Linked DNA regions of Homo sapiens: regions 1 and 2 are each linked to region 3. Evidence: promoter capture Hi-C in human tissues and cell types (Jung and others, 2019). All regions are on one chromosome and are shown on one strand. Each heading gives the region's core, a stretch centred on a gene start or on the middle of the fragment in contact. The rest is flanking DNA. Distances are from core to core; before and after follow the strand shown.

Evidence for each region. The method cuts DNA at HindIII sites, captures the fragments that hold promoters and counts their contacts. A contact is called where the count stands out against the background at its distance.
Region 1: a contact is called between a fragment that was not itself captured here and the fragment with the promoter of RHBDL2 in region 3, in 1 of the 25 tissues and cell types used here (aorta).
Region 2: a fragment that was not itself captured here is called in contact with the fragment with the promoter of RHBDL2 in region 3 in 2 of the 25 tissues and cell types used here (neural progenitor cells and spleen).

What each region holds. Positions count from the first base shown.
Region 1 is chr1:38,975,749-38,978,566 of GRCh38, forward strand. No RefSeq gene overlaps it. Among named protein-coding and RNA genes, the nearest start is that of AKIRIN1, 14 kb to the right of the region's middle. The HindIII fragment of the contact is 9,927 bases long and covers 1-2,818 here.
Region 2 is chr1:38,895,455-38,898,524 of GRCh38, forward strand. RHBDL2 (rhomboid like 2) reads right to left here. Exons shown (of 8, transcript NM_017821.5): 5 at 515-615. Among named protein-coding and RNA genes, the nearest start is that of GJA9-MYCBP, 15 kb to the left of the region's middle. The HindIII fragment of the contact is 8,075 bases long and covers 1-3,070 here.
Region 3 is chr1:38,940,456-38,943,527 of GRCh38, forward strand. RHBDL2 (rhomboid like 2) reads right to left here and starts at 1,375. Exons shown (of 8, transcript NM_017821.5): 1 at 1,227-1,375. The HindIII fragment of the contact is 22,458 bases long and covers 1-3,072 here.

The DNA of each region.
Region 1 (2,818 bases), core at 102-2,601, 35 kb after region 3:
ACAGGGTTTCACCCTGTTGGCCAGGCTGGTCTCAAACTCCTGACCTCAAGTGATCCACCCGCCTTGGCCTCCCAAAGTGCTGGGATTACGGGCGTGAGCCACTGTGCCCAGCCTCTAGATTTTCTATTCTTTTCCAGTATTCTATTCCTATGCCAATATTATACTAATTTGATTAAAGTAGGTTTGTGGATGTTCTGGTATCTGGTTAAGCAAGTAGTTCCCCTTCACTGTACTCCATGTTCATACTTTCCTAGTTTATTCTAGGGTATAAATTCTTCCATATGGATTTAAGGTTATTTTAATGATTTCTTAAAAACTGCCTGCCTGGCCAGGTGCGGTGGCTCACGCTTGTAATCCCAGCACTTTGGTAAGCCGAGGCAGGTGGATCACTTGAGATCAGGAGTTCAAGGTCAGGAGTTCGAGACCAGCCTAGCCAACATGGAGAAACCCCATCTCTACTAAAAATACAAAAATTAGCTGGGCATGGTGGTGGATGCCTGTAATCCCAGCTACTTGGGAGGCTGAGGCAGGAGAATTGCTTGAACAGAGGCAGAGGTTGCAGTGAGCCGAGATTGCACCACTGCACTCCAGCCTAGGTGACAAACCGAGACTCCGTCTCAAACAAACAAACAAAAAACCTGCCTGCCAGAATTCTAATTGGAATTGCATTAAATATAAGTATTTTTAAATATTTTTGTTGTTACAACGTTAAGTTTTCTTATCCAAGAACAAATAACTTTCTACTTGTCTAGCTTTGAACTTTATGTTGTTCAGTAACATTTTTATTATATTCTTCATATACATCCTGTGACTTTGTTCAGCTTATTTATAGGTATTTGAAAAAACTTTTTACCAGGCATGGTGGCTAACACTTGTAATCCCAGCACTTTGGGGGCTGCTGAGGCAGGAGGATTGCTTGAGGCCAGGAGTTGGAGACCAGCCTGGGCAACATAGCCAGATCCTGTCTCTACAGTTTTGTCTTATTTTTTTGTTTTGTTTTTATTTATTTATTTTGGCTCTGTCAGCCAGACTGGAGTGCAGTGGCGAGATCTCAGCTTACTGCAACCTGCCTCCTGGTCTCAAGTGATCCTCCCACCTCAGCCTCCCAAGTAGCTAGCACTATAGGCTCATGCCACTACGCCTGGCTTATTTTTGTATTTTTTGTAGAGATAAAGTTTCACCATGTTGCCCAGGCTCCCGGGCTCAAGTGATTCAGCCACCTCGGCCTCCCAAAGTGTTGGGATTACAGGCATGAGCAAAAAAAAAAGTTGTTTTAATTAGCCAGTCATGGTGACATTTGCCTGTAGTCTCAGCTACTCAGGAGGCTGAGGTGGGAGGAAAACTTGAGCTCCGCAGTTCAAGGCTTCAGGGAGTCAAGATTGCACCACAGCACTCCAGGCTGGGTGAGAGAGGGAGGCCGTCTCTACAAAAAAAAATTTTTTTTTTGAGACGGAGTCTCGCTCTAGGCTGGAGTGCAGTAGCACGATCTCAGCTCACTGCAACCTCCGCCTCTTGGGTTCAAGTGATTCTCCTGCCTCAGCCTCCCGAGTAGCTGGGACTACCAGCACGTGCCACCACGCCCAGCTAATTTTTGTATTTTTAGTAGAGACAGGGTTTCACCATGTTGGCCAGGATGGTCTTGGTCTCTTGACCTCGTGATCCACCCACCTCAGTCTCCCAAAGTGCTGGGATTACAGGCATGAGCCACCATGCCTGGCCTATGAAAAATTTTTTAGGATAAAAAATTTAAAAATCTTTTTTTAGAGACAGAGTCTCACTGTGTTACCAGGCTGGCCTTGAACTTCTATGCTCAAACAATCCTGCATCCGCTTCCTAAGTAGCTGGGACTACAGGAAGTCCCACCACACCGGGCCCTGGGTATTTTATATTATTGAGAATTTTTTTTTTTTTTTTTTTTTTTTTTTTTTTTAGTGACAGGTGTGTCTGGAATTGGTTCCTTCCGGTGGGTTTGTGGTCTTGCTGACTTCAGGAGTGAAGCCACAGACCCTCCCGGTGAGTGTTACAGCCCTTAAAGGTGGCATGTCCGCAGTTGTTTGTTCCTCCCGGTGGGTTTGTGGTCTCACTGACTTCAGGAGTGAAGCTGCAGACCTTCGCAATGAGTGTTACAGCTCTTAAAGGTGGTGCTCCTCCTCAAAGAGTGAGGAGCAGCAAGATTTATTGTGAAGAGTGAAAGAACAAAGCTTCCACAGTGTGGAAGGGGACCCGAGTGGGTTGCGGCTGCCATCTTGGGTGGCAGCTTTTAGTCCCTTATTTGGCCCCACCCACATCCTGCTGATCAGTCCATTCTACAGAGTGCTAATTGGTCCATTTTATGGCGTGCTGATTGGTCCATTTTTAGAGAGTGCTGATTGGTGCATTTACAAATCTTTAGCTAGACACAGAGTGCTGATAGGTGCGTTTTTACATAGTGCTGATTGGTGCATTTACAAACCTTTAGCTAGACACAGAGCACTGACTGGTGTGTTTACAATCCTGTAGCTAGACAGAAAAGTTCTCCAAGTCCCCACCCGACCCAGAAGCCCAGCTGGCTTCACCTCTCAATCCCCCCTTTAAACAGGATACCCCAACTACTGTTGGGAATTGGGCGATGACCGTTCTAGCTACTTCCTGCTGGATAGGGGCAAAGAAGGGGCCCTGCAGTTGTAGTGTCCTCCAGAGGGGAATGCTTTAGGCCAAAGGGCCAGTGGATCGGTCCAGCGGTCCTTGATAGAAGTTGTTAGTTGAGCTCATTTGGGGTTCTATTTGTAAGACCATCTGTAGCTTGATGGCCTCGATCCTAGAGGAAACAAATTTGACA
Region 2 (3,070 bases), core at 310-2,809, 45 kb before region 3:
TATTTAAAATTTTATGTTGTACTCATTACTTTTGAAATGAGAAAAAAAATGATAACATATGAAAGGAAGCTAGGTGCGGCAGCTCACGCCTGTAATCCCAGCACTTTGGGAGGCCAACGTGGGCAGATCGCTTGAGCCTAGGAGTTCGAGACCAGCCTGGGCAACATGGCGAAACCCTGGCTCTACAAACAATAAAAACATTAGTCAGGCATGGTGGCCCACACCTGTAGTCCCAGCTATTTAGGAGGCTGAGGTGGGAGGATTGCTTGAGCCCAGGAGGCAGAAGTGCAGTGAGCCATTATCACACCACTGCATTCCAGCCTGGGCAATGGTGCAAGACTCTGTCTCAAAAAAAAAGAAAGAAAAGAAAGGAAACAAAATGGCATTGCCATACAATTCTCAGAAAATTGAGTGCTCAGTAAATATTGATAAATGAAGGTTCGTTGAAACAAAGAAGAGTTACTGTTTTCTGTTTTTTTAAGAGACTCGTGGACTCCATCCCCATGGTTCTTACCACCAGAACATTCATAAAATAGCCTCCCATCAGAGCATAGACTCCTCCTGAAGCTCCCACAAGATATCTGAGTGGGTCAAAGATGGAGCTGGCAAGGGACCCTAAAGAAATAAAACACAAAGGATCAGACATGACTATACGGATCAGGAAAGATAAATCTTTCTAATCTAAGGTAGACATTTGGGAAGTCTGGTCTATTATCACATTAGCAAGCAACAAATCTATTTTGCCCCTTTCATACCATAGAAGCATAGCTGTATATGCTAACTACCACAGTGTTTCTGAAAACATGGAATGTTCATTAGAACAGCAACATAGCAGTGACAATGGCAGAATCGTCTGGAGCCAGAATTACCAGCAGTGTGACTTGAGGAAGTTAGTTGACTTCTCTATGTCTCAGTTTCCCTACCTGCAAAATGGGGCTATTAATAGAACTTACCTTAATGGATTGTCAGGGTAAATAATGAGTTGATGTGTGTTTTGTGCTTAGAATACTGCTTGATGTGTATTATATATTTGTTAGCTATTAGGTTGGTGCAAAAGTAATTGCGGTTTTGCCATTACTTTTAAGGGCAAAAACTGCAATTATTTTTGCATCAACCTAATATTATTGCAAAATATCCTATGTTCAGTCAAAATACCTGAGACAATCCAACATTTTATTATCTAATAGCTATCTTTCTCAATGAGCCATAATGTGCCCTCAGAATCCTTCTCAACATACGATCCAATCAGATTCCCCAAGCAAGATGAATCCTAATTGCTAACCTAATCCTAGATTTACTGGACCAAAACAAGGCTTTGCAAACCACCTTATGCAAAGACTAAAATATTCTCTCTATACTGCTTAGTTCTATTACTTGGTCTATTCCTTTCAAGGTCTTCTTTCATTTCCTTAGTGTATGATACAAAACAATACAGTACCTATTTTGTGCAAGAAAAAGTGTCTGTCCTCAGTAATTTTACAAAGAGATGAGCAAACAACTATTATAAAGTACAGAATATAACAACTACTATGACAAAAATAAATTTATTGTAGAAGCACTTAGGAAGGAGTGATTTTCTCAGCAGAAGGGTGGAGTCCTTGCTACTCTGAGGAGGAGGAGATAGCATTTTCATTAAACTTTGAAGAATCTTTTTTTTTTTTTTTGAGATGGAGTCCCACTCTGTCGCCCAGGCTGGAGTGCAGTGGCGTGATCTCAGCTCACTGCAAGCTCTGCCTCCCAGGTTCATGCTATTCTCCTGCCTCAGCCTCCCGAGCAGCTGGGACTACAGGCGCCCGCCACCACGCCTGGCTAATTTTTTGTGTTTTTAGTAGAGACGGGGTTTCACCATGTTAGCCAGGATGGTCTCGATCTCCTGACCTCGTGATCTGCCCACCTCGGCCTCCCAAAGTGCTGGGATTACAGGCGTGAGCCATTGCGCCCGGCCTAAACTTTGAAGAATCTTTAAGATTGGCCAGACACTGTGGTTCACTCCTATAATCTCAGTGCTTTGGGAGTCCCAGGCAGGAGATTGCTTGAGGCCAGAAAGTCAGGAGTCTGAGACCAACCCGGGCCACAGAGTGATATCCGTCTCCAAAAATATAAGAAAAATATTAGCCAAGCATGGTGGTACCCGCCTGTGGTCCTTGCTACTCAAGAGGCTGAGCCAATAGGATCACTTGAGCCCAGGAGTTTGAGGCTGCAGTGAGCTATCATCGTGCCACTGCGCTCCAGTCTGGGTGACAGAGGAAGACCTCTCCCCTCACCCCCACACACAAAAGGATTGGATAAGAAAAACAAAAGAGAAGAAGGTATTCAGGACTTAGAGAACTGGAAAAGCAATGGCATACAAACAGGTATATGGATGACTGAAGATCAGTGAGAAGTAGTCCAGTAGGCCGGGCACGGTGGCTCACGCCTGTAATCCCAGCACTTTGGGAGGCCATGGCAGGTGGATCAGCTGAGCTCAGGAGTTCGAGACCAGCCTGGGCAACATGGCGAAACCCCATCTCCACTAAAAATACAAAAATTAGCCGGGCATGGTGGCAGACACCTGTAATCCCAGCTATTTGGGAGGCTGAGGCAGGAGAATAGCTTGAACCCTGGAGGTGGAGGTTGCAGTGAGCTGAGATGGCGCCACTGCACCCCAGCCTGGGCAACAAGAGTGAGACTCTGTCTCAAAAAAATTGAAAAAAAATAAAATTAGCTGGCTGTGGTGGCACATGCCTATAATTCCAACTACTGGGGAGTCTGAGGCACGAGGATCACTTGAACCTGGGAGGCAGAGGTTGCAGGGAGCTGAGATCGCACCACTGCACTCCAGCCTGGTGACAGAATGAGACTCTGTCTCAAAAAACAAAGAAGTAGTCCAGAGCAACTTAGAGCAATGATTCTCAAATGCTAACCTATAGACTAGGGCTGGGGTGATTATATCATAATCATATGAGAAATTTATTTTTAAAATAGATACAAATGTCTACTTCTGACCATGATAAGGTCACAAGAATAGGATTTGCTGTCTCACTTGAAAAAGCCAAAAGCACTGGACAACATATAGGAAAGAATGGTCTTC
Region 3 (3,072 bases), core at 125-2,624:
CTCGGCCTCCCAAATCACTGGGAGCGAGCCATGGAACCCAACCTTCCCTCTCCCTTCACCACTCCACCCGTCACTGGCCAGTTCTGTTTACACGCTGCCTACGTGCTTTCAAGGCCAGGGGTTGTCTAGCATATCTTTACAAGCCTAAGGTGAGGGAGTTGCTGGTTAGGGAGAGGCATGGCAAGAAGGCAGTCAAAGAGGAAGGGAAAAGCACAGGTGTTTAGGAAGGCTCCACAATGAGCCTGGCACCCAGCTTGGTATTCAACATGCATTGTTCCCTGTCATCTTCATAAAAATATCATTTTGAGCTGGCCGCCGTGCCTCAGTTAACTCAGGAAGCTGAGGCAAGAAGACTGCTTGAGCACAGGAGTTTGAAGTTGTAGTAAGCTATGATCAGCCACTGCACTGCAGCCTGGGCAAGGTAGCAAGACCCTGTCTCTTTAAAAAAAAATTATAGCTGAGGAAACTGAGGCTCAGGAGGTAAACAGGAGATATGGGATAAAAAGCCAAGTGTCTTTGTGACTCCAAAATAATTTTCTGCTCTGCCATGCTGCCCACCAGCTTGTAGATGACCATCAAATGTTTGAGCAATAAGTTTCAGTTTTCTTATTCCCAAGAGGAGCAGAAATTGCGCAGCCCTCCCTCCAGAGAATCCAGGTATATGCTCAAACAGTGATGAATAAACAAATGAACACTAATGAATAAATGAAAGATTGAGTGAAATCTCTCTGATACCCACACCAGGAAGAAGGAAACAAATAACTCTGGAGGAGCCGCCTTGCGGGTAGAAGTGGAGACTGTCTCCCTGGCTGTGGTCTCCAGTGTCCAGGTCAGCAAAGGGCTAGGAACTGGCTTAGTTGGAGTTAGAAAAACTTAGGAGGGTAGGGGGTGCTGGGGAGAACGTGATGGCTGGAGGGAAAGCCAGTGTGAAGGGCAGGGAAGAGGAATGGAATTACTCTGTCCTCATCCTCAGCCCTTCCCTGCCATTTCCCTCGGGAAGATAGCCCCTGACTCCTGGCCCAACATGCTGCCAACTTTTAAAATGAAAGTAGCAGGATCCAAAGCGGCCACACCAGGAGGTCACTCCAGAAGGGGGGTTACCAGCGAAGCACCCCACATGTCCCTCCTCCTTCCTGCACAGCACCCCTCGGCCCTGCACTTCCTGCTGCCGCCCCCTTGTCCTGACATAGGACTCCCTCCACTCCCTCCCAGCTCCCACATCTTACCCTGAAAGACCAAGGTAGGGGCGTCCCAGCCCACGCCCTCCGGTCCTTGCGTTCCAGGCTTCCTGGGCCAAGGGGTTGCCCGCTGCCCTGAAGATCCCGCTCTGCCAGGCGCTCCTCCGTCCCTCCCCAAACAAAAATCCTCCAGACAGGTTCCAAAGCTGCCCAGCCCAGGAGGAGGGAGGCTGAGGAAATCCCCTCCCAGCTGGGCTGGGCCGGCCTGCTTGGCAGTCTTGCTCCTGGGCTGGCCCTGGATGAATGAGTCCTCCTCTTCGCCTGCTTGGGTCTTAGCCAGGGAGCCGGTGGCAGCCTCTGCTCTTTCTCCAGGACACTGAGCTCCATTCCTCCTCCAAGTCCTGCCCTCCTGCTTCATGCCTGGGTCCCCTGCTCTCCACTCTCAGCTCTCTGACGCCTCAACCGGGTGGTCTCTATCACTCTGCATTTGGTTATGCTCCAGTCTGAAGCCAGGCCTGTACTGGGCACCAGGGTGGGTGACTTGACGATCCTCAGCAGAGATTTAGTCCACAGAAGAATTGGTGACACCATGGCCCCTGGTGAAATAGCTTTGCCAGCTCTGATTATTCATTCAAAGCATTTTGAGAATAACTGGCCTTGTGTGAGGCCCTGAGGATGAAGAGGTAGATTAACGGGGTCCCTGACCTCCTACTCTACTAGGAAGACAAAGAATGAAGCTCTAAGTAGACGCTGCTCAAGATTCAGGCAGAAGGTGGCCAGGCATGGTGTCTCACGCCTGTAATCCCAGCACTTTGGGAGGTTGAGGTGGGTGGATCACCTGAAGTCGGGAGTTCGAGACCAGCCTGATCAACATGGAGAAACCTCATCTCTACTAAAAATACAAAATTAGCTGGGCATGGTGGTGCATGCCTGTAATCCCAGCCACTCGGGAGGCTGAGGCAGGAGAATCGCTTGAACCCGGGAGGCGGAGGTTGCAGTGAGCCAAGATCACGCCATTGCACTCCAGCCTGGGCAACAACAGCGAAACTCGGTCTCAAAAAAAAAAAAAAAAAAAAATTCAGGCAGAAGGGACCAGAGAGGAATCCCCCTGTGTGGAAGTGTTCTGGAAAAGCTCCTAGATGACATGACATACAAGATGGGTTTTGAAAGGTGAACAGGGGTTTTCCAGAATTGTAAGCGGGGAGCACACAGAAGGGGAGCACAGGCTGACAGAAAAGGCCATGGGAAGGGACGGAATTCAGCAGGAACTACTCAAAGTTCAGAATTGTGAGCAGGGAGTGTCAGATCATGAAGGGCCTTGTGTGCCTTGGTAAACAGTTTGGACTGTGTCCTATAGGTTCTGGGGAGTCATAGAAAGATTGTTTGTTTGTTTGTTCGTTTGTTTGTTGCAATACAGGGTCTCTCTGGGAGGCAGAGGTTGCAGTGAGCCGAGATTGCGCCACTGCACTCTAGCCTGGGCAACAGAGTGAGACTCCATCTCAAAAAAAAAGAAAAAAGAAAAAATAGGATCTCTCTCAGTTACCCAGGCTAGAGTGCAGTGGTGCACTCATAGCTTGAAGCAGCCTTGAACTCCTGGACTCAAGTGATCCTCCCACTTCAGCTGCCTGTGTAGCTGGGACTACAGGCACCCACCACCATGGTCAGCCAGTTTTTAAATTTTTTGTAGAGATGGAATTTCACTCTGTTGCCCAGGGTGATCACGAACTCCTGGCCTCAAGAGATCCTCCCGCCTTGACTTCCCAGAGCGCTGGGATTACAGGTGGTACACCACACCCTGCTAGCTCACAGATAGGCCTTAAACAAGGGACACAAACTATCAGACTGCATTTAAAATAGATCACTGGAGCCAGGTGTGGTGGCTCACACCTGTAAT